Linked DNA regions of Homo sapiens: regions 2, 3, 4, 5, 6 and 7 are each linked to region 1. Evidence: promoter capture Hi-C in 16 types of primary human blood cells and fetal thymus (Javierre and others, 2016). All regions are on one chromosome and are shown on one strand. The core of a region is centred on a gene start or on the middle of the fragment in contact, and the rest is flanking DNA. Distances in the headings are between cores, read along the strand shown. Region 1 holds the start of ARRDC3 (arrestin domain containing 3). Region 2 holds the start of LMNB1 (lamin B1). Region 3 overlaps DIMT1 (DIM1 rRNA methyltransferase and ribosome maturation factor). Region 4 holds the start of ADAMTS6 (ADAM metallopeptidase with thrombospondin type 1 motif 6). Region 5 holds the start of CENPK (centromere protein K). Region 6 holds the start of SGTB (small glutamine rich tetratricopeptide repeat co-chaperone beta). Region 7 holds the start of FEM1C (fem-1 homolog C).

What was found. Contacts are between HindIII fragments. The CHiCAGO score rates a contact against its expected background, and 5 or more counts as called.
Region 2: a contact is called between the fragment with the promoter of LMNB1 here and the fragment with the promoter of ARRDC3 in region 1, in 2 of 17 cell types (non-activated CD4 T cells and fetal thymus). The highest score is 7.5, in non-activated CD4 T cells.
Region 3: a fragment that was not itself captured here is called in contact with the fragment with the promoter of ARRDC3 in region 1 in 1 of 17 cell types (total CD4 T cells); the score reaches 7.3 in total CD4 T cells.
Region 4: the fragment with the promoter of ADAMTS6 here is called in contact with the fragment with the promoter of ARRDC3 in region 1 in 1 of 17 cell types (fetal thymus); the score reaches 11.7 in fetal thymus.
Region 5: a contact is called between the fragment with the promoter of CENPK here and the fragment with the promoter of ARRDC3 in region 1, in 1 of 17 cell types (total CD4 T cells). The highest score is 8.7, in total CD4 T cells.
Region 6: the fragment with the promoter of SGTB here is called in contact with the fragment with the promoter of ARRDC3 in region 1 in 1 of 17 cell types (fetal thymus); the score reaches 7.1 in fetal thymus.
Region 7: the fragment with the promoter of FEM1C here is called in contact with the fragment with the promoter of ARRDC3 in region 1 in 3 of 17 cell types (activated CD4 T cells, fetal thymus and naive CD8 T cells); the score reaches 10.6 in activated CD4 T cells.

Annotation. Positions count from the first base shown.
Region 1 is chr5:91,381,855-91,385,119 of GRCh38, reverse strand. ARRDC3 (arrestin domain containing 3) reads left to right here and starts at 1,803. Exons shown (of 8, transcript NM_020801.4): 1 at 1,803-2,307. The coding sequence starts at 2,028. The region is part of intron 1 of ARRDC3-AS1 (ARRDC3 antisense RNA 1); the gene reads right to left. RefSeq lists enhancers at 1,037-1,336, 1,216-1,733 and a silencer at 1,587-1,896. The HindIII fragment of the contact is 1,076 bases long and covers 989-2,064 here.
Region 2 is chr5:126,775,540-126,778,804 of GRCh38, reverse strand. It overlaps LMNB1 (lamin B1), which reads right to left and starts at 1,669. Exons shown (of 11, transcript NM_005573.4): 1 at 938-1,669. The coding sequence starts at 1,296. LMNB1-DT (LMNB1 divergent transcript) reads left to right here and starts at 2,319. Exons shown (of 4, transcript NR_134485.1): 1 at 2,319-2,510. RefSeq lists enhancers at 3-92, 1,108-1,908 and silencers at 583-692, 903-952, 1,263-1,342, 1,543-2,192, 2,843-2,892. The HindIII fragment of the contact is 4,360 bases long and covers 1-3,265 here.
Region 3 is chr5:62,398,065-62,401,329 of GRCh38, reverse strand. It overlaps DIMT1 (DIM1 rRNA methyltransferase and ribosome maturation factor), which reads left to right. Exons shown (of 12, transcript NM_014473.4): 4 at 2,449-2,510; 5 at 2,591-2,684; 6 at 2,770-2,819. Among named protein-coding and RNA genes, the nearest start is that of DIMT1, 4.2 kb to the left of the region's middle. The HindIII fragment of the contact is 6,457 bases long and covers 1-3,265 here.
Region 4 is chr5:65,480,473-65,483,737 of GRCh38, reverse strand. ADAMTS6 (ADAM metallopeptidase with thrombospondin type 1 motif 6) reads left to right here and starts at 1,818. Exons shown (of 25, transcript NM_197941.4): 1 at 1,818-2,395. RefSeq lists enhancers at 1,616-1,665, 1,439-1,938, 1,706-2,065. The HindIII fragment of the contact is 619 bases long and covers 1,391-2,009 here.
Region 5 is chr5:65,561,613-65,564,877 of GRCh38, reverse strand. CENPK (centromere protein K) reads left to right here and starts at 1,710. Exons shown (of 11, transcript NM_022145.5): 1 at 1,710-1,780. PPWD1 (peptidylprolyl isomerase domain and WD repeat containing 1) reads right to left here and starts at 1,582. Exons shown (of 11, transcript NM_015342.4): 1 at 1,372-1,582. The coding sequence starts at 1,567. RefSeq lists enhancers at 1,133-1,793, 1,934-2,073, 1,794-2,455. The HindIII fragment of the contact is 1,930 bases long and covers 865-2,794 here.
Region 6 is chr5:65,720,423-65,723,687 of GRCh38, reverse strand. SGTB (small glutamine rich tetratricopeptide repeat co-chaperone beta) reads left to right here and starts at 1,579. Exons shown (of 11, transcript NM_019072.3): 1 at 1,579-1,771; 2 at 2,859-2,980. The coding sequence starts at 2,881. It overlaps NLN (neurolysin), which reads right to left and starts at 1,483. Exons shown (of 13, transcript NM_020726.5): 1 at 1,274-1,483. The coding sequence starts at 1,314. RefSeq lists enhancers at 219-298, 71-892 and silencers at 1,169-1,778, 1,849-1,898, 1,959-2,008. The HindIII fragment of the contact is 2,154 bases long and covers 430-2,583 here.
Region 7 is chr5:115,542,997-115,546,261 of GRCh38, reverse strand. FEM1C (fem-1 homolog C) reads left to right here and starts at 1,487. Exons shown (of 3, transcript NM_020177.3): 1 at 1,487-1,739; 2 at 2,579-3,265. The coding sequence starts at 2,769. RefSeq lists silencers at 1,197-1,536, 1,637-1,686, 1,737-1,906 and enhancers at 1,336-1,630, 1,172-1,938. The HindIII fragment of the contact is 1,787 bases long and covers 513-2,299 here.

The DNA of each region.
Region 1 (3,265 bases), core at 554-3,053:
GTCATTCTAGGAAATTCACCACTTCTACCACTAGGTGGAGAAAAAACACAAGTAGTATCTGTAATCAAAGCTAGTACAAGGCCCCAGGTACTTTACCTAGAATTTCCACCAGGTGTCAACCAAGAGGTAGGGAAAAGATAAGACTGTTTTTCCCACTTAAATATGCAAATTTATAATTTTATGCATAGCGATCTAAACTCTGAAATAAATGGCCTGCTCATTAATTGTCTAGTTTGCATATTTATACTCTTTATATATTGCTGTTGAGTCCAAGATATTGCCTTGTCAACTAAAATCCAACCCCCAAAAGCTTAGTTTCTTTTGAAATAAAACAGCAAGACCAATAAGTTTAGTTTATTGTGACTCATAGGCTCAACCTATCCATATACACTACGCAAAAGAATCTAAAACGTTTAGACACGGACAGCCAAAAATCTTCCAAGGTATTTTTGGTCATACATATATATATAGAGAGAGCACCAGATTCATATTTTTTCTTTCTACATTTCTCTTGTAAGGCAGTTCTGTTGATTGCCAGTAATCTAGATGAGTTTATGCTGTTATGCTCTGAATCCCAGTGTGATGTGACGAAAGCACTGCTATTTTTTACCAAACATTCACAATAAAAAGAGAAATGTACCTATATTTAAGATGTATCATGAGAATTACTACGTTAAATGGTCCAAGGCTCTCGGCCGAAAATTAAAGCTTCACACAGTTAAATCCCTATTTATATACCAAATCATGCTTTTTAAAAACAATTTTATGCGCTTCACTAATTTCTAACAAAGATTTTCCGATTCTGTTGCAAACAATATGTCAGCTAAACCACTATGTCATATGCCTTTTATAAGGTAGTACTTTTTTAGGCCGAACTCTATTCTTATTCCTCTGGACACAGGAGTTGTAATCATGTCTTACTCTGCAAATCTAGCCGTAGGTGGTGTCTTAAAAGGACTTTTTCTTCCTTCGAGGAAGTGATCAAGCTTCCCCCAGCCCCCACCCGTGTCATCCTGGAAACAACTTGGTTGTTTTTCGGTGCTAATTAAGCAATGTAGGAGAAAGAAGTTGAGGAGACAGCAAAGCCTATTGATTACATTGTACTTGCTTCTCTACCTCGCTCTTCAAAGGATTAAGGTTCCTTTGACCTCGACTGAGTTCATTTCCAACCTGCCTACAAAGTACTGGTTTAAAAAAAAAAAATCCAAGCAAAGTATGCTCTTGTCTATGAACAATATTTCTTGTCCGGTTTTATTACGTTTTCTTTGGAAATTCGTTAGATTATGCTCAACAATCGGCCGCTTGCCCAACCGGTTTCTCCCTTCCCCCATCTCTCTTCACACATCACTTTTTCCTCCTCCCATCCAGGCAGTTGGTAAAACGCTGCAGTGCCGGTAACGCACGCTTCGGGCTGGTCGCTGCAGTTTATCCTAACTTGGCTTTGCAAACTCCCCACCCAGCCCTTGTACCCTCGCACCCCACTCTGCCATTATCTTTCTAGTAGAGTGCGCTCGGTAACGGGCTCCAGATAGCACGTCGAGGGTATACGGTAGCCTGCCTACCAATAGGAGCCCACAATGAAGAGAAGTCAGGTTCAGCCGGCCAGCAGCTCCAGTATCTCCTTCCCCTAGCTCTACACCTACTGTACCCGGGAGCGAGCGGGCAAGGGAGCGAGCGCGGCGCGGCGCGGCGCGGGAGGGGGCGCGCAGGGAGGGCGGACAGCAGCCGCGGCCTGCGCCTGCGCACTGGGGTTGTTTTTCACAAAGCTGCTCTTAAAGTGAGCTGGCAGCTTTTAGCCGCCCGTCTTTGTAAGGAGACCACTGAGACGAGCGGGAGCGCGGAGCAGCAGCCTCTGCTGCCCTGACTTTTTAAGAAATCTCAATGAACTATTTGTAGAGAATCACTGATCCGGCCTGCAAGCATTTTGCACGGCAAAAATATCGATCAGTGTTAAGTGAAGATCACATTTTATATGCGATCTTGACTTTTTTGTCTTACATTATATTTTTATAGATTTTGTTATAAACATGGTGCTGGGAAAGGTGAAGAGTTTGACAATAAGCTTTGACTGTCTTAATGACAGCAATGTCCCTGTGTATTCTAGTGGGGATACCGTCTCAGGAAGGGTAAATTTAGAAGTTACTGGGGAAATCAGAGTAAAATCTCTTAAAATTCATGCAAGAGGACATGCGAAAGTACGCTGGACTGAATCTAGAAACGCCGGCTCCAATACTGCCTATACACAGAATTACACTGAAGAAGTAGAGTATTTCAACCATAAAGACATCTTAATTGGGCACGAAAGAGGTAAGTTTTTGTTATTCATAAGTCATTGGACTCATTTTCTTTGGAAACGTACCTTTTCAGTTTTCTGAATTAACGTGATTCTACTCCTAGCATAACTAAGCAGTTTGAGAAAGGTTAGCAAAGTTGGAAGGTTTGGATTCTCCTTGACGTTCATCGTGTGTTAAGCCGTAATGCATGCAGGCATCTGCAAAGTGACTGCAAACTACACTTATTCAGCTACCTCTGTACCCGGCTCGGTCTGTGCCACACGCACTTGTAGTCCATTTGCACCTTACTTATAAATTCTGTTTGAATCCAATTCAGTCGTTTTACTAATATATTTTCAAATGAATTGGTAAAAGCTGCAGTCTTAGATTTTTGCCCTTTTACTTGCAACCTAAGATGTAAAAACTGAACTTCGATCAAGAAATGTAATAACATTTTTAAGAGACTTAATGGGTGTGTTTCATTTTTAATATTGGAATGCAAAAGACTTTAAATAATTGATGACTGTTCTTTCATAAAAGATTTCTGTGGCTTATTTTGACATATGGTATCAACACCCCACGTGTTTTTTCTCTATTCTTTACCATTCCTTTAAAAATTTACACCCAGCATTCCTTATTTTAAAGGAATGACTATCTGTCATTATGATAGGTATCGAGTCAGGTTTAGAAGCCATTTAGGATCAGTAATTTTCTTTTCCGAGCATCATGTCTAACTTTGGAACGTGCATTCAATGAAACCCATGCCAGTCAAATGGAATTGAAAAGTATAGGGCACACTGGATTTGATTTTTGGTTAGAAGAGAGAGATAAAGGGTTGTCAAAAGGAGAAGGAGTCCTGAGATTTCCAATCTATTGTTTAAATGGTTACATTGTGGAAATATAGGAGACTCTAGGCTTGTTTTTCTAAGTTTCCACCCTTTGTTAGAAGCGGTTCAATCCTGTTTCGGACCAGTTCTGGGGGGTGGTGAGGA
Region 2 (3,265 bases), core at 420-2,919, about 35 Mb before region 1:
GTCTACTATCTGCACAGTGGTCGACTAAGGGGTACTAAGCACAGTCTCTACCCGAAAGCCTGACTATACTACGAGGAGGCAAAAGCTGGGGACAGAGGGCCGCTGCCTGAGGGGTAGGAGAACCGCAATTCTAAGAACGGTAGCCGTGACATGCACAAACCCAGCTTTCCTTCCCTGCGCAGAACCACCCGAGGGACCGCACCATCCCCGCTGGGACAGGACACATTTCCCCAGAGAAAGCTAACCAGCTAGCAAACCTAACTTGCCCGGGGCTGGCTGGAGGCGCACGGATCAAGCTCCGCCTCTCTCTCCCGCCTAAAGCAGGCGTAGAATCTTCGCAAAACGTCACAGGGCCAAGACTGAGCGCGCCAAAGCGGGACCCACCCCCAGGAGACGCGGATGCTGCGGGAAGGTCCCTCCCCTTCCTCTCTCTGCCCGCGCGAAGCTCATTCATTCTAGAGGCGGGCTGCCAGTCCTCCCCGGCCGCCCATCCCGGCACTGCAAATCCGCTAGACGCTTTGTCTCGCGCCGGCCGGAAACTGGGGCGCGCACGCGAGCGCGCGCTCGCGCTCCAGCTCCCCGCACCTGGGGCCTGAGGGGCCGCCTCTCCGCGCCGGCTCCCCGGATTCGAGTGCGAAAGCGGGAGCTCCTTCTCGGCAGTCCCAGGCGCGCACTTACCACGTCCCAGCGGGTATCCAAAATCTAGAAATGGGCATCACGGCCCCCCAGCGCTACAGCTCGAGCCCCCTCCGCGACCCCTGCTCCGCTATGAACTCTAGATTCTTTCTCCTTTCCGGAGACCGAGACCCTGTTCCTTCAGAAGGACGCGTGCATCCTGGCCTCTGCTCCCTCCCCACGGCAGAACCCGGTGAGCTGGTCGCCGCGGTTGCGCCCCCGCCCCTCCTTGGCGCTAACGCGGCCGCCAGCTAGCACTCACTTGAGGAGCAGCTGGTCGTGTTCCGCCTTGCACTTGCCCAGCTCGATCTGCAGCTTGGCGCGCTCGCGGGCCGTGTCGTCGAGCGCGCGTCGCGCGTCGGCCAGCTCGGTCTCGTAGAGCGCCTTGAGGCCGGTGAGCTCACGGCCGCGCACCTCCTCGCGCTCCGTCACCTGCAGCTGCAGCGCGCTGTTCTCCGTCTCCAGGCTGCGCACCTTGTCGATGTACACCGCCAGCCGGTCATTGAGCTCGCGCAGCTCCTCCTTCTCCTGGAGCCGCGACAGGCGCGTGGGGCTCAGCGGCGTGGTGGGGCCGCCAGCGCGGCTGCCCATCCGCGGCGGCACGGGGGTCGCAGTCGCCATGGCGGGCGGCGGAGACAGCGGGGCGGCGAGGCCGCGAGCGGGACCGTGATAAGGAGGGGACGGCAGGGGGCGAAGCGGGGACCGAAGGCACAAACCGGCGACCTGCGCTCACGTCCAGACGCTGGCGTTTAGAGGAACGGAGAAGCACCTGGGATGGCGGGAGCTCGATTACAGCACAAAGGGCAAAGGCGCGCGGGGGGGAACTACGAATCAATCGATCGATCGCGAAATACCCTTTGTAAGAAAACACACACACCCACTCACACACGCACGCGGGAAAATGCAAGACGAGGGTGACTGGAGGCCCAGCAGGGTTCGCGCCGCCGCCGTCTCCTGCTCGCAGCACTTTGTTTCCTCTCAGGCTGCACGGAGCGGCGGGCGGGGGGAGGAGGGCCGGGAGGGGCGGGCTGGAGGCAAGCCGCGGGGGGCGGAGGTGGCGCGGGCCGCGGCGCCGCACTCCCCAACATGGCCGGCACGCCCCGGCGCCTCCACGTGACTACCATGGGCCAATGGGGAGCAGGCAGCGCGCTTCGGCGGTTCGGGGGCCGGGCCTGTAAATTTAAAATCTGGCCCTTGGGCAACCGTCAGCTCGGCCCTCCCGGCTGGGCGGTTCCCGGACCAGGCTCAGGGCTGTAAGGAAGGACGCCTGGGACTGCCCACCCGCGCGGCTCTGGGCCCAGGGCCCTCCCGCCGCCCCGCGGGGACCCCTTGGAGGGGCCGGGCCTGAGAAAGGCGGGAAGGAGCCCGGAGGTTTCCGGGACGGATCTGCGCCACCGCCCACACTCGGCGGTTCAGGGAAATTCAAATATAAACGTCCCTAAAAGCCACACGCGAAACTCAGAGTGTCCCCGGCCACCGCGGGCGTGGTAACCTTATCCCCCGCTCCGCTGGAGGGCTCGGGAAACGGCCTGGAGGCCGGGACGCTGTGGAATTACGTAATAGGCACTTGAGTCCGAGGTTCCAAATGCACGGCTTGCAGGTTCCAAGTACCAGCCTTTATTTTTCTCTCCGGTGGAAAACTGTATCAGGCAACTTCTTTCCATGAAAGTGAGATCTGTGCGTCTTGAAGCCGATAGATTATCACAGAAAAACCAGCAACCCTGATTTTAAATCATTTGCCAACAGTGTTAATGGGCGGTTCCTAATCCGTTTCTTAATTTAAGGGTTTGTAAAATCAAAAAACAGCTCAGAAATGATACGATTAACATATGACGGTGAGTAACTACGAGAGCAAGCTGTTTCATACTCCGTTAAAATCAGGTACATAAAAATCTGAACTTGTGAAAATTTAAGATGAAATAATTTTTTGCTTTTAAAAAGAGGCTCCCAAGATGTCACTGGCAGCTACTTCTATTAGAAAGCACATTCATCCCTTTGAAAAGTTCCTAATTTTTAGCTAACATTTATTGGGACTGAGTGCCAGCACCAGGCTTTTCATGGATTACCCATCCACACAATCTCCGTGTGATGTGGGAAACTGGATTGTTTCTATTTGAAAATTCATCCGGGCGGGCGCGGTGGCTCACGCCTATAATCCCAACACTTTGGGAGGCCGAGTGGGGGAGGATCACCTGAGCTCAGGAGTTCAAGACCAGCCTGACCAACATGGTGAAACCCCGTCTCTACAAAAATACAAAAATTAGCCGGGCATGATGGCGGGTGCCTGTAATCTCAGCTACTTGGAAGGCTGAGGTGGGAGAATCCCTTGAACCCGGAAAGGGGAAGTTGCAGTGAGCCGAGATGGCACCATTACACTCCAGCCTGGGTGACAGGGAGACCCCGTCTCAAAAAAGAAAGAAAGAAACCATCCATTTTATAGATTCACTGTCTGAAGGCTGCTCCGCAGGACTGCGTTTGACAGGTCCCAGGATTCTAATTGACTCGAGTCTGGCCCTTAGCTATACCCTAGATGACCACCTTACCACCTATTAGGAACGCTTCTGTAATTAATGGTTACTTACTTTTAAAA
Region 3 (3,265 bases), core at 205-2,704, about 29 Mb after region 1:
GAGATGCGGTTTCACCATGTTGGCCACACTGGTCTTAAACTCCTGACCTCAGGTGATCCGCCAACTTTGGCTTCCCAAAGTGCTGGGATTACAGGCATGAACCACCATGCCCAGCCTCAACAGGGAGTTTAATTAGGAAGGAAATACCCAACGCCTCCCCTTTGTACCCTATAATGCTGGTGCCTTTCACTGGCCAATTCCAACCAGAAGTTGAAAGGTAAGGGAGCTGAACTGCATTATCTGTAGGATGCAGAGAAAAGCGGATAATAGATCTGGGAGGGCCTTTCATGGTGGCTCACACCTGTAATCCCAGCACTTTGGGAGGCTAAGGCGGGTGGATGGCTTGAGCCTAGGAGTTGAAGACCAGCCTGGGCAACATGGTGAAACCCCATCTCTACAAAAAATTGGCTGGGCATGGTGGTGCCTGACTGTAGCCCTGGCTAGCAGGGAGGCTGAGGTGGGAGGTTTACCTGAGCCTGGGAAGTTGAGGCTCCAGTGAGCCATGATCCTGCCACTTCACTACAGCCTGGGTGACACAGTGAGACCCTGTCTCAAAAAATAAAAATAAAACTAAAGATAGATCTGGGAGCCAAACAGAGTAAGAAACACATTGTTTACCATGTAAACAGGGTCTATATAGAAGTAGGGCCAGGAGCTGTGGCCCACATCTGTAATCCCAGCACTTTGGGAGGCTGAGGCAGGAAGATTGCTTAAAGCTATGAGCTTGAGACCAGCCTGGGCAACAAAGCGAGACCCAATCTCTATAAAAAATAAAAAGGCTGGGCATGGTGCCTCCCGCCTATAATCCCAGCACTTTGGGAGGCCAAGGTGGGAGGATTGTTTGAGCCCAGGAGTTTTGAGACCAGCCCGGGCAACATAGAGAGACCCGTCTCTATTAAAAATAAAGAAAGGAAATTAGCCTGGTGTGCTGGTACACACCTGTGGTCCCAGCTGCACAGGAAGGTGAGGTGGGAGGATCCCATGAGCCCAAGACTTCGAGGCAGCAGTGAGCTATGATAGCGCCACTTCACTCCAGCCTGGGCAACAGAGTGAGACCCCATCTCTTAAAAAAAATTATTTTTTAATAAAAATAAAGTCAGTGAAACCTCAGCTGAAATTGCAATAAAATTTCAATTTCGGCCTTATTTGACATCCATTTTCATTTACTTGAGAAGTTATCTATGCCATGTATTGTGTATCTCAGTAGATGTGACATACTAACAGTAAGAGCAATTGCATTGTACGCTCTTCTCTAACAACACTGACTGCAGAGACATGTAGTGTATTTTTTTCATCATCTGTTGAATTACAAAGCATGGAGACAGATGAAACATGATTCTATTGATTATATGAGTAGAACTCTCACATAATCTGGTTGTCTACTTTTCTGGGTGGTGGTGTTTGTTTGTTTGTTTGTTTGTTTTTGAGATGGAGTCTCGCTCTGTTGCCAGGCTGGAGTGCTGTGGCGCGATCTCGGCTCACTGCAACCTCTGACTCCCTGGTTCAAACAATTCTCCTGCTTCAGCCTCCTGAGTAGCTGGGATTACAGGCACGTGCCGCCACGCCCAGATAATTTTTGAATTTGTTAGTAGAGACAGAGTTTTACCATGTTGGCCAGGCTGGTCTCAGTCTCCTGAACTCATGATCCGCCCACCTCAGCCTCACACCCGGCTTTTTTTTTTTTTTGAGATGGAGTCTCACTTTGTCACCCAGGCTGGAATGCAGTGGCACAGTCTTGGCTCATGGCAACCTCCGCCTCCAGGGTTCAAGCAATTCTCCTGCCTCAGCCTCCTGAGTAGCTGGGATTACAGGCGCCCACCACTAGGCCCAGCTAATATTTTGTGTTGTTTTTGTTTTTGTTTTGAGACAAGAGTCTCTGTCTCTTGCCCAAGCTGGAGTGCAATGGTGCGATCTCGACTCACTGCAACCTCTGCCTCCCAGTTTCAAGCAATTCTCCTGCCTCAGCCTCCCGAGTAGCTGGGATTACAGATGCCCATCACTGTACCCAGCTAAATTTGTATTTTTAGTAGAGACGGGGTTTCGCCATGTTGGCCAGGCTGGTTTCGAACTCCTGACCTCAGGTGATCTGCCTGTCTCAGCCTCCCAAAGTGTTGGGATTACAGGCGTGAGCCACTGCACCTGGCCTAATATTTTGTATTTTTAGTAGAGATGGGGTTTCACCATGTTGGCCAGGCTGGCCTTTAACTCCTGACCTCATGATTCGCCCACCCCAGCCTTCCAAAGTGCTGGGATTACAGGCGTGAGCCACTGCACCCGGCCCATTTTTGTTTGTTGTTTGAAGTATGCGAGTATAATTAAAGGAATATTGATGGTAGAAATGGGAGAAGAAGTTTGTCACATAAATCATGTAAGAGTTCCTGTTGGGATAACAATAAAAGATTTATATTCCATAATTAACCTAAATAATTTTTATTTTTTTTAAATTAGGTTGTTGCTTGTGAACTTGACCCAAGGCTAGTAGCTGAACTTCACAAAAGAGTTCAGGGCACGTGAGTATACATAATAGAATTAAAGTGCATTTCAATCTCATGAAACAACATTCTTTTTACATTTCTTCTTTTCTCATCAGGCCTGTGGCCAGCAAACTTCAAGTACTGGTGGGTGATGTGCTGAAAACAGATTTGCCATTCTTTGATACTTGTGTGGCAAATTTGCCTTATCAGGTATGTCCTCACATTTTCAGGAACATCATACTAACTGTTCCTCTGATGTGTCTTTCCCGGAAATAACTAGTTAATTCTCTTACAGATCTCTTCACCTTTTGTCTTCAAGCTGTTGCTACATCGACCTTTTTTCAGGTTTGTGACAAAAGACTAGAGTTACTGCCAAATTTTGAAAGACTTACAGTTCAGGTGGTGAACATAGCCAAAAATGAGTCAGGTCAGTTGAAAAACTACTGAAGAATTTTTGTAGAAAATGTTGATTTGTATGGAGGTCTTTCTCTCTTTAATTGAGAGGTTATTTGGGGGTAGTGTGCTGGAAGTCCTGCTTCTGAGACCAGACAGCCTTTCCCTATTTTTGAATCTTCCTGCCGTTAAGTCTAGGTTAGAATTTTTATTACCTTATGTCTAGACAATTGCAGTGGTTTCCTAACTGGTCTCTAGTATAAGAGGTCTTCAAAAAGTTCATGGAAAATGTGTATTATGAAAAAAACTTGCATGGATTTCAAAATTTTTTTGCACCAAAATAAACTCTGTACTAACTGAGCAGGATCTAGTGTGAGGCACTGAGAAGGATAAGACAT
Region 4 (3,265 bases), core at 569-3,068, about 26 Mb after region 1:
GGAAGGTTAAGGTTCAACACTATTTAAATAGTCATTTGATGCCTACTTTTCTTATTTTTGGTGTTTACAATTATTGCTATATTTTGCTACCTCATGTATTTCACATATATGTACACACATATATATACACATACAAATACGCACACATACATACATACATATGAATCATCTTTATTTAAAACTCAATGCCCACTATTGAACAGATTTCTACATTTTAAATGGCTTTTAGCCAGATACTACTGATTAAGGTCAGGATGAGGACTATTTACTCTGTGGACAGATGCTTTCCACTTTCAACCCTTGAAGAAGAATTGAAATAACTGTATTCTTGGACGTTCTCAGTCTGATTCATGCCTCCTTTTAGCCAACTATTCATAGATTCACCAGAAGAATTACACCTACTACCTCCGGCGTAGGAAGAAAAAAAAAAATCAAATGGGCAATAATGTTAGCAGAAGCTTGATATTTAAGAGCTGGTATTCAGAAAGATCATCCTTCCTACCCCCTTCCCTCCGGTCCAGTTCTCCTTTCTGGTTCTCACCATCGGAAATTGACTTGGCATTAACTAAGGGCTGGAATTTCAAGGCGTCAATTTTCCCCTGCCCCCAACCTCGGAAACTCTTAAACAGCTCCCTATTCTACACTCAATGGTAGAGACAGATAAATGATGCAGCAGATTACACCGTTGAAAGGCAACATTTGTCCTGAGCTATTTTCACATTTTTTCCTGTTTCCGATGTATGTGCCAGACTTTGTTTGCTTGCTTAGGACATGGAAAACACTGGGCATTTTCTCCCCAGCGGCTTTCATTCTCAGCAAATGAAAGTGAAAGTGCTACATTGTAGCGGTATTTTATCCTTAAAGTCTGGACTGGCAGCTTGTGTGTAGGGGGGAGGGAGGGTGGGATTGGGAAGGTTGAAGAACCAGTTTTGAGGTTTTGTTTGTTTATCTTGAGATCGCAGCAGGGTTCCTGTTTTTTTCCCTTCCTTTTTTTTTTTGGTGGTGGGGTCCTACTTCGGATTTATTTTCATTTGGGCAGTCATTGAAGTTTCATTCAATGGACTGACTTAAAAAAATACACTCCACTTGTGGCTTTTCCCGGTTGCACTTTAAAACACCATCCAGTCTCACCCTCATCTGGAAATAATGCAAGCTTCTCTCTTCCTTCCCCCGCTCCCTCCTCCCCTACTTTTTTTTTTTCTTCTTCTTCTTCTTTTAAAGCTCCACATAACCTGAAGTCGATAATCAAATGGAAAATGTGCTGGTATTAGTTTACTTTAGTTTACTTTCCCTTTTGGTGCTAACCTTACTTGCTGAAGTATGTATAAAACACAGGCATTTTGTACACTTGTAGCTACTGAGTCTTGTGCCTGCTGCACGAATCTAAGCTTTAAGTTTCCTCAGAGGCACTGTTTGCGTGCAAGTTTTAACATTTTGATTGTGTGGATTTTAAAAATAAAATTACACGGAGAATGACACCAGAGATCTTAACAGTGACATTAGTCCATCTAAAGTCATTCATCCTTCTCCCTCCCCCTTCATTTTTCCAAGAAACAACTAATAGCAAACCAGGCTAGAATTTCTAAGAGAGTTTAGAGGAGGAGGAGGAAAAGAGGCGGAATGAGATAGGACAGAGAGGTTAGAGAGGCCAGAATTTCTCTCATTCACAGTGTGGAAAAGTTGACATTGTCTAAGCCCTTCTGAATGGCTGGTAGTTGGTTACCCCGATTGTACCTCTACCTCCCCTCCCCCTCCACGTGACGACCCAGGACACATGCGCACCCGACGCAGCCCAGGCACATCTGCAGACTGACGTCAGTGTGCTCTGCCTCCGAGGAAAAGCTGCCAAAATTTTCTCCTGCTGCAATTCAAGTTGGCTGGGGGCCGGTAGTGAGATCTAGGGCTACTTCAACAAAACTTTGCTGCCCTTCCTGCTCCTCTTGTCTTCTTTTCTCCTGATACCTTTTGATGCTCTGCACATGTTATTTGCATAGCAAAGGCACTAAGCTTTCCAGGAAGAGAGGGCACCACTTCCACCCCCAATAAGTCTTTTTTCCCGTCTTTTCTTTCTTTTCCTTTCCTTTTTTGGGGGGTGGGGAGGGAGAGAAAGGGGGTTTGCAAAGGCAGCATCTCAGAGTGATAGCCTAGATGTATTGAAGGCATCTCTTATTCTGCCAAATCGGAAAGTCAGTTCTCTAAAGCCCGGGTTAGCCAGACCATAGGGTTTTATTCTGGCTGCAGAATAACTGGCTGGTGTGGCTTTGCAAAGGGGGGCAAAAAATAAAAAAATAAAAAAAATTAAAAAAAGTTAGAGAGGAGAGGGAGTACGTGAGTCGTCCAGTGCAATCTCTATTGTCTGAAACTTACTTTTTATCAGAATTTGAAGATGAAAACGGTAAGGAAGACTTAACAATATTCAATGGAGCTTTTTTTTTTTAAACCAACAACTTGTGCTTTGCTTGTCTTCCGAATAACGCTTAGAAAACTTTTTTTCTGTGTGTGTGTTTTTTTTTTTTTTTTTAATGGCAATGAGTGAGCTTGACTGAACTCATTTTACAAATAGATATCTTTTTAACTCCAGACTTGTCGGGGGTTGTAGAATTCTGGGACTTGCAGTTATTTTATGATGCAAAAAAAATACGTTTATTTTATGAATATACAATACATGTTTTGTGAAGTGGACTTGATTATGATTATTGTAATCTTTTAACTGATCACCAAATAGTAATCCGGAAGGTAATAATGATGTGTGTGTTTTAAATTGATTTCCAGTTTTCTTACAGAAAAGTCTTATGCATTTTGTAGTTTCATGTCAGTGTCGTTAAGTCTTCAGACAAGTGCATATTTTATGCCTGGGCTCAGAGGGTAGCATTAATGTGCTAGCTGTAGCCCCGATGCTCTAGGACATGTTAAGCTCTTAATAGGCTAATCAAAGAGATGGAAACGTGTGTTTTTGATTTACTTTTGGCCACTTGGGACGTGCTAGACTCATAACCCTCCGGAGCCTTGTTTATCGGGGTAGGTCTGTATATATGGTGTATGGGACCAAAGTTCAGGGATTGAGGAGGGAGAGTGAGAGTGCAGGAATGGGGTATTGGGAAGCCTCTTTCTGATAATATGTGCTACAATTCCTGTCTTTGATGCTTTCTTTCCCTGTACTAGAGGAAAAGTGAGCGAGAGATTGAGAAAGCGCACTGAGAGGGAACAAGAGAGTGAGTTTCTTACTCTTGTTTTTATTTGAGCTGCCGGTGCAACGCGTTTGGGC
Region 5 (3,265 bases), core at 461-2,960, about 26 Mb after region 1:
GCTAAAGGTTGACCAAAAGTCAGTTCAGTGGAAGAGTTGAGGGAAATTATTCCCGGTAGAAACACCATATCTGGGTAGGAATCCAGAGGAAAAAAAAGTACAAGACCGATTCTCGAGTGATTTTAGAATGGGTGGAGTACAAAGTAAGGGGTTGGGAGAGGAAGGTAATGGAAGATGCACTAAGAAGGTAAGGAGAGATCACATCATAAAGGGCTTTATATGCCATGTGAGGGAGTTTGGGCTTTAATGAAAATAATGAGCTGGGCGCCGTGGCTCATGCCTGTAATCCCAGCACTTTTGAGAGGCCGAGGCAGGCAGATTACGAGGTCAAGAAATCAAGACCATCCTGGCCAACATGGTGAAACCCCGTCCCTACTAAAAATACAAAAATTAGCTGGGCGTGCGCCTGTAGCCCCAGCTACTCGGGAGGCTGAGGCAGGAGAATCGCTTGAACCCCGGAGACGGAGGTTGCGGTGAGCCGAGATAGCGCCACTGCATGCGCTCCAGCCTGGGCGACAGAGCGAGACTCCGTCTCAAAAAAAAAAAAAAAAAAAAAAAAGAGAGAGAAAATAATGACAAATCATTGAAGTTTTTTAAGGGAAGGTGCTAAAGTACGATTTGAGCTTAGACCACATTTAAAATGTCTTAAATACTTAAGGAAAACATTTCACAGAAAAACAAGATAACAAAACAACAAAGACAAGAAAACTTAATCTACCCCTTTTCCCACCCCTTTTATTTGATAATAATTTGTGATTATTCCTCGTTAGTGACAAAAAGACTCAGCCCATCGTATCAAGAGCGTGATTTCAAAACCACAGACTTCGGGTTTTGGATGAAAACAAATCTGTGATCTAGGAAGCTTACGTCATTTTCCCTAGATGCGAAAATTTATTAGTGGAAGTGTCAGAGTTGAAATTATCTTTACCTACCATGATTCGAAATAAGCACCGCCTTCCTCTCGCGCCCCAACACATTAATACATTAACACCACTCCTGAACTAAAGCCTTAAAGAGAACTGGTACCCTTTTGCATACCTAAATAAGAGTTCGAAATTCCAACTTCATGTGGCTGCTGTGGGGAGTAAATGAGAGGAGCCAAACACATAAGAATAGGAAAATGTTAGTTTTAGCATCTGTCATAACAAATCAATGATCAAAAGTGTTAGATATTATCAAAAAGACGTTGTACTACGCTTAAATCACTATTTCGTTAAGACATGCAAGTATGGAGTAGCCAGAAGTGAGAGGACGGCCCTCTGTTCTGAGGGCACAAAACTCCACACATCATCCCTCTTCGGATCTGGCTTGAACCCTCCTACTCAGCGGACGCAGCACTCCAATTCGTCCCGGTACTATGTCTGCAGCTACCTTTCCTCTTCTTGGCCAGTGTTGCCTCCACAGGTAAAGGTCCAACCCAGCGCTCTTCGTTCTCCTCATCGTTCTCCTGGGACACCGCCACTGCTACTGCCAGCTCTCTTTCGCTGAGTTCTGTTTTTTCCGGTTCCTCCGGGTCCCGGCGCCTTCTACGTCTCTGCTGAAAATCGCTACCACTTTCCGCCGCCATGTTGTTCGCATCGTCAGAAAAGGCGCGACACAAAACTCAGCTACCAATCCCAAAGCAGCGGCGCAGTCTTCTGTCAGCGTCCGAGCGAGTTTCGGGATTGGCTGGGGTGGGAATGAGCACATCCAATGGGCATGCAGCGCGCGCAGAAGTCCGGGGCTGGCAAGCGCTTCCTGCGCAGCGCCTAGGCGACCTGGAGTTTGTGACGCTGTGATGGTAAGACCTGGGCCGGGGAGGTTGATATAACGGTTGAATCTTGTGGAGCTCCAGTCCTGAAGGTGAAACCCTTATCGCCGGCCAACTAGATACCTGACTTCCCAGCCGGGCTTTGAGTCCCGTTCTTCTCGGCTTCCCGCGCGCCAACGCAAGCTCCATAACCTCACCAATATTTAGAGAAAGATGGAAGGGTGGGGACAGAAGGAAGTGGTTAACTCGCGGGTTTCCTTTCAGATGCACTAAACATGTTTTCTCTCCTGACCTTTATTCTCTCACACACTCTCTGAAGAAGGTGGTGAGTGCTTGTTACTGTTTCTGGGGGTGGGGTGGAGAAGCAGCTACTTCAAATAACCAAAAGACCTAGGGCAGAACGGGTCACTCTTCTTTCTTCTCTCTGGTATAGGATTTCATCTCCTAGCAGTCATCTGAACTCTTTCTCCTCCTCCTCATCTGTCTTCTTCATTTTTAAAAAATTAGGTAAAAAGCACATAACATAAAATGTATTATCTTAATCTCTTTTTTAAAAAATCAAATACAGCTTGTCAAAATGACCTCCGTAAAACACTTCTTTTTTCTCTGCAATTACTTTTGCACCAACCTAATAAAATCCTCGTCGTAAATCTCTTCTCTACTTTTGCCTTGAGATAGGCACCACGTACAGGGAAGGAACTGCCCCCCCATAGTAGGCACTTTATTTTATTTCAAAGGTTCCCATTATTTGACCATTCTACCTAGCAAGTCTCATTTCTTCTCTGCCCTCTGCTCTCATCAGACTACTTTCTTTTGTGTCTCACAAATTTCCCTTGTTCGTTCTTGCCTCCTACTCTTATGTTTTTATGCTTGAAAGCATCTCCACAGCGATTTAGCCTTCATGTTTACAGCTTCTCATCTTTCAGAGACCAATGCAATAATGAGGATGAAGATGATAATGATAATGATAATAATAATGTAGCTAGTTAACATTTATTAAGCATTATTATGGACTAATTCCTTCCGGGTTGGTTTTTCTAAGCTTCCCTATCCTGAATTCCGATAGTACTTGCAGGCAGTGTTGTATACTTTACCATTTCATAGCACTTCTGACTACCTGAAATCATATCATGTATTTAGTTATCCATTCATTTATATTGTCTGCATGAGAATGGAAGCTCTACAAGTACAAAGACTTTTTCATCTACACAGCTAAAGCCAGTGTCTGACCAATGGCACACATTAACATATTTGTTGAATAAATGAATGTATTTTAGAATTATGTGGGTATTTTTTGCTTATTTCATGTATATTAATCTTTTCCCAATTAATAGTACGAGTTTCTTTAAGTATAGTATTATCCCTAAATAAAGAGATACTGTTTTTCTTCAATAAATGATTAAGTATTGTAGTCCTAACTGGGGACCTCAAAAAGTTGACTTGTTCCCTTTCCAGGAAGATAGGTTTAAGGATACAAAATGTGGGAACGGGAAAAGTTCAACTCTTAAGTGTGTG
Region 6 (3,265 bases), core at 330-2,829, about 26 Mb after region 1:
GCCCGCCACCACGCCCGGCTAATTTTTTGTATTTTTTAGTAGAGACGGGGTTTCACCGTGTTAGCCAGGATGGTCTCGATCTCCTGACCTCGTGATCCACCCGCCTCGGCCTCCCAAAGTGCTGGGATTACAGGCATGAGCCACAGCGCCCGGCCGAGAATTGCTCTTATATGAAGATTTATTCCCTCCTCTCACCCCTGCATTATGTGAAGTCTTCATTTCTTGGTATAACTTCATTTGACAGCTATATCGATTGCAGCCTGGAGACTAGCAAAAAACGACAGGCTGAAATATGGTCACCAATCACCACATTAACTCTTTGTAATTAACCACTGTCGCCTGCCTGCTCCCTAACTCTACGGACTGAGCAACACAAAGCTCCATCCACACAGACGAGTGGCAATGTGCAAAAGGGAACTGTAGAAAGCTTAAATGCTGACATGTTACAAAGTAGTTTTGTTGATAGCTAGCAAGAAGCACACATTTTCTTTATTCTGTTGAATCTTCATTTGGATTTACAGTTCTGGGCAGATTTGGAAACGGGGATGGTGGCGGCATTGTTTCCGAAAACCAGCGCATCCGTGCAAAGAATTTAATTCCCTCACCATCTTGCTACTGGTCTGTTGCAGTGGGGTGTGGTTAGAGGGCTAGGAAGCAATCCAAAACAGCAGCTCAGGCTGCCCAAAGCCGTGTCCAAGCGATCATTTTCTCCATTTTGGGCCAAGTCAATTTGCACCGGCAAGAGGCAGAATGTTTGTTTTATGGGGAGGAGGAAAATAAAAAAGGAAGTCAGAGAGCATGGACGGAAACAAGCAACACCACCAAAGAGGTTTCATCTCGGGTGGATGTTAAACGATTGGAATGCTAATAATGGGCGCGAGGAGCAAACACAATTGTTCTGAGTCCACAGCTGCGGCACTTTTAATGACAGGTCTGTAGTTCTGCATTGGGATTGAACGTGAAATGATTTTCTTATCCAAACTATTTGCATTCATTTTGGGCCGCGTCTGTGACCAGCCTCGCTGACTGCGGCTGAGGCAGTCCCAAACAAAGAGGAATGGACGTCCTCCCGAGGGAGCGGAGGCGGGAAAGGTGGCCCCAGGTGGCCGCGCCAGGTGTCCCCCAGGGGTCCACCTTGCAAGCCGCGGGGAGGGTGCGTCCCGGGAGCGTCGGAGAGGCGCGGTCGGGAAGGGGTGGGTCCGGGCTCCAGGCACCACACGGCGAAAGACCCCGCCCTGCCCACGGCCAAGGTTAACCCGCGCGCTGGAGGTACCTGCGGAGGCTTCGCACAGCCAAAAGGCACCGGGCGATCATGGGAGCGCTGAGAGGCTGGCGGCGGCGGGCGCGTGGTCCTTCGGCGTGGGGCGGCGAGGCGGGCGGCAGCGCCTGGGCGCCCGGGAGTCTCGAGCCGGCCTAGCCGCAGAGGCCACAGTGGCTGCCTGGCCAGCGCCCTCCCACGTGCGGCAGCTCCACGCCGGCGCCTACCAGCCCCGCCCCGCGCCGTGCCCCGCCCCAGCTCGCGTGTCTGGCCCCGCCCCAGCCCTCGCGTCCGGCCCCGCCCCAGGGGCGGTGCTGGCCAGACCCTGCCGCCTGAGAGAGAGCACAGCCTGGTGGGTTCTGGGGTCTACGGCCTAGGGGCCGGGGAAGTTTGCGCCGCCGCGACCAGTGCTGCGATCCCGAGCCGGGCTCCAGCCCCGAGGACCAGGGGTCGGGCGGGCCTGCCTACGGAACCCCGCGGGCCAGCAGCAGTCGTCTCGCGTCCTCCTGCTTGGTAAGGGGCTTCTGTCTGGCAAGGGTGCGCCTCCCGCCGCTCCGGACCGGGGCCCGCACCGGCACCCGCTGCACACCGGGCAGGGCCGAGGCGAGGCCGGGTACCTGAGGGAGGACGGAAGGGAGGGGGAGCTCGATGCGCTCTGGGGAGAGGAAGGGGGAGAAGCCTATTTCCCTCTTCTCACCCCTTTTCCCCCCATTCTGTTTTTACCTTCTGCCCTGGGGCCTTATTTAGTGCTTATGACCCCGTGGCCTAGAGGCTGACATCGCCTTTAAAATAACTACACAAATAATAAACATTATAGCGGCGGGTACCACACCCTGGCTTTGAATTAGGGAACCTGGGGAGCAGATGGATGATGCGATTTGGTGGAAATCAGCCATGAATGCCGCCTGGCCCTGCGCCACTGTTTGGATGCGATAGTATTCCATGTGAATGAACATGACCGGGAGCTTCCAGCTTGTCCACGAGAGCACAGCCTCTGCAGGGAGCGCCGGTCGGCTTGTAGTATCCATCGACTTGGGCAGCGATTTCCTGACATGTCTGCTGATTAAATAGAAATGCCATTTTTATTAAGAACGACACTCACCACTTGAATAACCTTTCGCGAATGTGTTTCCTCATCAAATAACTCTCAACCTACAAAAGTGGGTAGAGTGTACATTATTAATACTTTTTTTAGATCCCATGAAAAAGAGGAAGATGCTTGGTATACATCAGCTTTTAGTCAGCAGTATGAAATGCCTCTTAACTTAGTACTGAGGCCTTTAGGGGATTTCTGTATGGTGAGATATGCAGTGACAGTCTAAGCTTATGCTGTACATGTTTTGAAGACATTTTTACTTATTCCAAGATTTAACATACTCGTATACCACTGGGTATTAATGAAAATATGTAATAAATTACCTTCACAATACTTTGTGCTCTCCTGACTCTTTACAAAGAGAAAAGATGAAAGGTCATACAGTTTTGTGTTTTGTTTTTACCTTTAATACACTTTATAACCCATATCATCTTTGTAATTTATGACTTTCCTGACTGATTCTTTAAAATAACTTAGTTCAGTGTTTTCATTTTTCTTATCAAGGAAAAGTGTTTAAGCTTCTAAAATGTCATCTATCAAGCACCTGGTTTATGCAGTTATTCGTTTCTTACGGGAACAAAGTCAGATGGACACTTACACCTCGGATGAACAAGAAAGTTTGGAAGGTATGCATCTGCTCTTTGTGTTCATTTATATTATAATTATAAACGAAGACTAAAATAGCTGTAAGCCCAACTTGATGATCTATTGTAACATAATCAGAATTTTTTTTGATCTTTCAAGAGGAGAGGCCTGACTATAAGGTTATCGTATTTCCATTTTCTGAAGCTTGTTTTGTTTGTTTTAACAACAAATTAAGAGGACTATTGTTCATTTATTGAACAAATACTATATGTCAGAAGTATGCTGTTCATATTATAGGCAATTTTTTCTTCACAGCAACTGTTATG
Region 7 (3,265 bases), core at 238-2,737, about 24 Mb before region 1:
ACTACCTAAGGGAAATACTATGCTATACTTAAAAATTATTAAGACTGTAAAAACATAAGAAACGTTTAGAGTATAGAAAGGAAAAGCAAAATATATAGTTGTATGAAAATTATTTCAATTATGCAAAACTACATAAACTTCTGAACAACACTACAATATACAAAAATGAAGTTGTGATTTTTTATAAATGTTTTTAGTGCTGCATGACTTCTAACATAACGTTATGGATTACATATGCTGAGGGTCAGACTGCCTACTGTAATATTCTATTTCTCCTAGTGGTACTAAGGAATTATGTGAGCTTAAGTTCCCTCAAACAAAGTGATTGAAGGTCCATTTTCAAAAATTCTGTTTTCTCATCAGGATTCATTATGGGCGTTATTTCCCAAACACATTTAAACTTTTTCATCCTAGTTTAATGCAACGTAGGTTTTAGCATCAAATTCCAGAGGTTTATCAACTACTATATGAAGAAGTAATTCTTTTCATTCATATATATAACCTTTTAAGCTTTAGTTCCCGATTTATTACTCAGAGCTCAAGAACCTGACCTCATTGACTTTACATTGCTCTTAGGGTTTACCATTCCTCGTAGCCTTTATGCTTTTTAGAGGCTACTTTAGAAAGAGAGTCAGTTTGACAGCCTCCAAAACTAATCACATTTTCTGAAATTTCAGTTTCCTCCGTGTGTGTTCTGAGGTGTAATTACGAGCTTGGTAATTTCCAGGGCCCACCAAAGTAAGGACGGAAGACTAGTCCGAGAGACTTCACGTGTGTGAGGGTAATACTGGTCCGCACCCAAATTTGAATTTTAGCTCCCATGATTCCCACATATTGTGGGAGGGACCTAGTGGGAGATAATTGAATCAAGAAGGCTGTTTCCCCCATGCTGCTCTGGTGGTAGTGAGTACGTCTCAGGAGAGCTGATTGTTTTATATGGGGTTTCCCTTTTTCCTTGGCTCTGATTTTCCTCTCTTGCCTGCTGCCATGTAAGACGTGCCTTTCCCCTTCTGGCTTGATTGTGAGGCCTCCCCAGCCACGTGGAACTCTGAGTGCATTAAATCTTTTTATCTTTATAAATTACCCAATCTCGGGTATGTCTTTATCAGCAGCGTGAAAACGCACTAATACACTTCCCTTCTGGGGTCTCTGAGATGGGACCGAAAGATTCCCTAAGGGAGCACCCCGAAAATCCGAGAGGAGAAGAGCCAGCGAGATCTCAGAACTCGAGCTGCCTCGGGCCGCTTCGATGGGCACAGATCCGCCCCCTCGCAGCGCCCCGCCCCCCAGCGCGTTGCACGCAGGCACGTCCTCCCAGTAGTTCAGGCCCCGCCCCCTCCCCGTCGCCCCACCCCGGCCGCGACGCCCCGCCCCGCGCCTAGGCTGTTGCTGGCCGCGGCCGCCGCCCTCCCCCGGCCCAATGGCGTGGCGGCACAGTCAGTGATGTGACGCTCAGGCTTGTCCGGCCCCCGGCTCGCAGCCCATTACACCATCCGTCGCAGCAGTCGCTGCAGCCGCTGCAGTCCGAGCCGACTAAGGGCGGGAGGCAGCTCGGGTGGCGGGGCGTGGCGAACAGCGCGGCCGGATTCATTCCTTTGGGGCGCGGAGCATGGAGGAGCTGTGCGGCCGCAGGCGGAGCAGGGCGGCCCGGGCGGCGGTGGGGACAACGGTTTCCCTTTGAAGGGGACGGACAAAGCCCGAGTGACCAGCGGCGGCGGGGAGGACTAGTCCCCGGGCAGGTAGTGGCGGCGGCAGCGGCCTGCCAGGGCTCGGGCCGGGGCCTGAGGTGCCCGCGGAAGGCCTGGGCGGGAAGGAGGGCGCCGGGGGAGCCGAAGGCGGGCAGCGGGCTGGAGGCCACAGCTTGGCCCATCGGGAGGGGGTTGTGGTCGATGGAGGAGATTGGGAGGGGGCTGCCGTTGTCTGGAACAGGGAGAGGGGAAGGTTGTGTTGGGGCGACTGTGGTTTGAGGAACCTGCGGATCATCCCTTGGCGGGGGGTGGGGGGTGATCGAAATGGGGCGGGCGAAGTTAATGACTAAAAGGCAGGCGGATTTCCTGAGAGCCGTGAGTAGTTTTAAAGGAAAGAGAATCTTTCGGGGCACAGTTTTGGCCTTAGCCGGGGTTTGGTGTGTCCGACCTTTTTGTTCTTTCTCGAAACCCGGCCTCAGGCCTTCCAGCCTGGCGCCCTTGGCCAGCTCTCCTGCAGTTGCAAGAAAGAGAAACATTTCTGAACCCGAGTCTCCTGCCTCTTTCGGTTGTACTCTCCCTGGGCGTGTGCAAAGCAAAACTAGAACAAAGCTTGGCTGGTTAGAGCTGGAGGCGAGAAAACGGGCTGCCTGTAGTGTTTAAATTTTCCGCACATGGAGGAGACTGCCTGCGACCAGAACATTTGGGTCTCTGTGTATCCTTCTGTATTTTTCTTTACCACCTTTTCTTTGGGGGTGGGGGGGGTGTGTGGGATGGAGTAGTGCCTGAAGTATAGCTTTTATTCCTTTCTTCCCACAGAAGTGGAAATTAAGAAGTGTTTTGCCTTCTTCTATAGAAAATTAAATGCTGCTACTTTTTTTTTCTTTCTCTAGTTTGGTGCCCTGGTTGTCAGATGTTGGAAAGCAGTAGGACGGAACATACTCTTCGTGGTTGTGTATCCGTTCTGGGGTGCAGCAATTAACATTGGACTTTGGTTCCTGTGACTCTTGCCTGTGTCGATAGAGTTAAACTGGAGCTCTGCTTTGAAAGATAAATAAAGCACAGCCTCTCAACTGGACATAAATGGATCTAAAGACAGCAGTATTTAACGCAGCTCGGGATGGCAAACTCCGGCTTCTCACCAAATTGTTGGCAAGCAAATCCAAAGAGGAGGTTTCCTCCTTGATCTCTGAAAAAACAAATGGGGCCACGCCACTCTTGATGGCCGCCAGGTATGGGCACCTTGACATGGTGGAATTCCTCCTAGAGCAATGCAGTGCCTCCATAGAAGTTGGGGGCTCCGTCAATTTTGATGGCGAAACCATTGAGGGGGCTCCCCCTTTATGGGCCGCTTCTGCAGCAGGACATCTGAAGGTGGTCCAGTCCTTGTTAAATCATGGAGCATCTGTCAACAACACGACTTTAACCAATTCAACTCCTCTTCGAGCTGCGTGTTTCGATGGCCATTTGGAAATAGTGAAGTACCTTGTAGAACACAAAGCTGATTTGGAAGTGTCAAACCGACATGGGCATACGTGCTTGATGATTTCATGTTACAAAGGACATAAAGAGATTGCTCA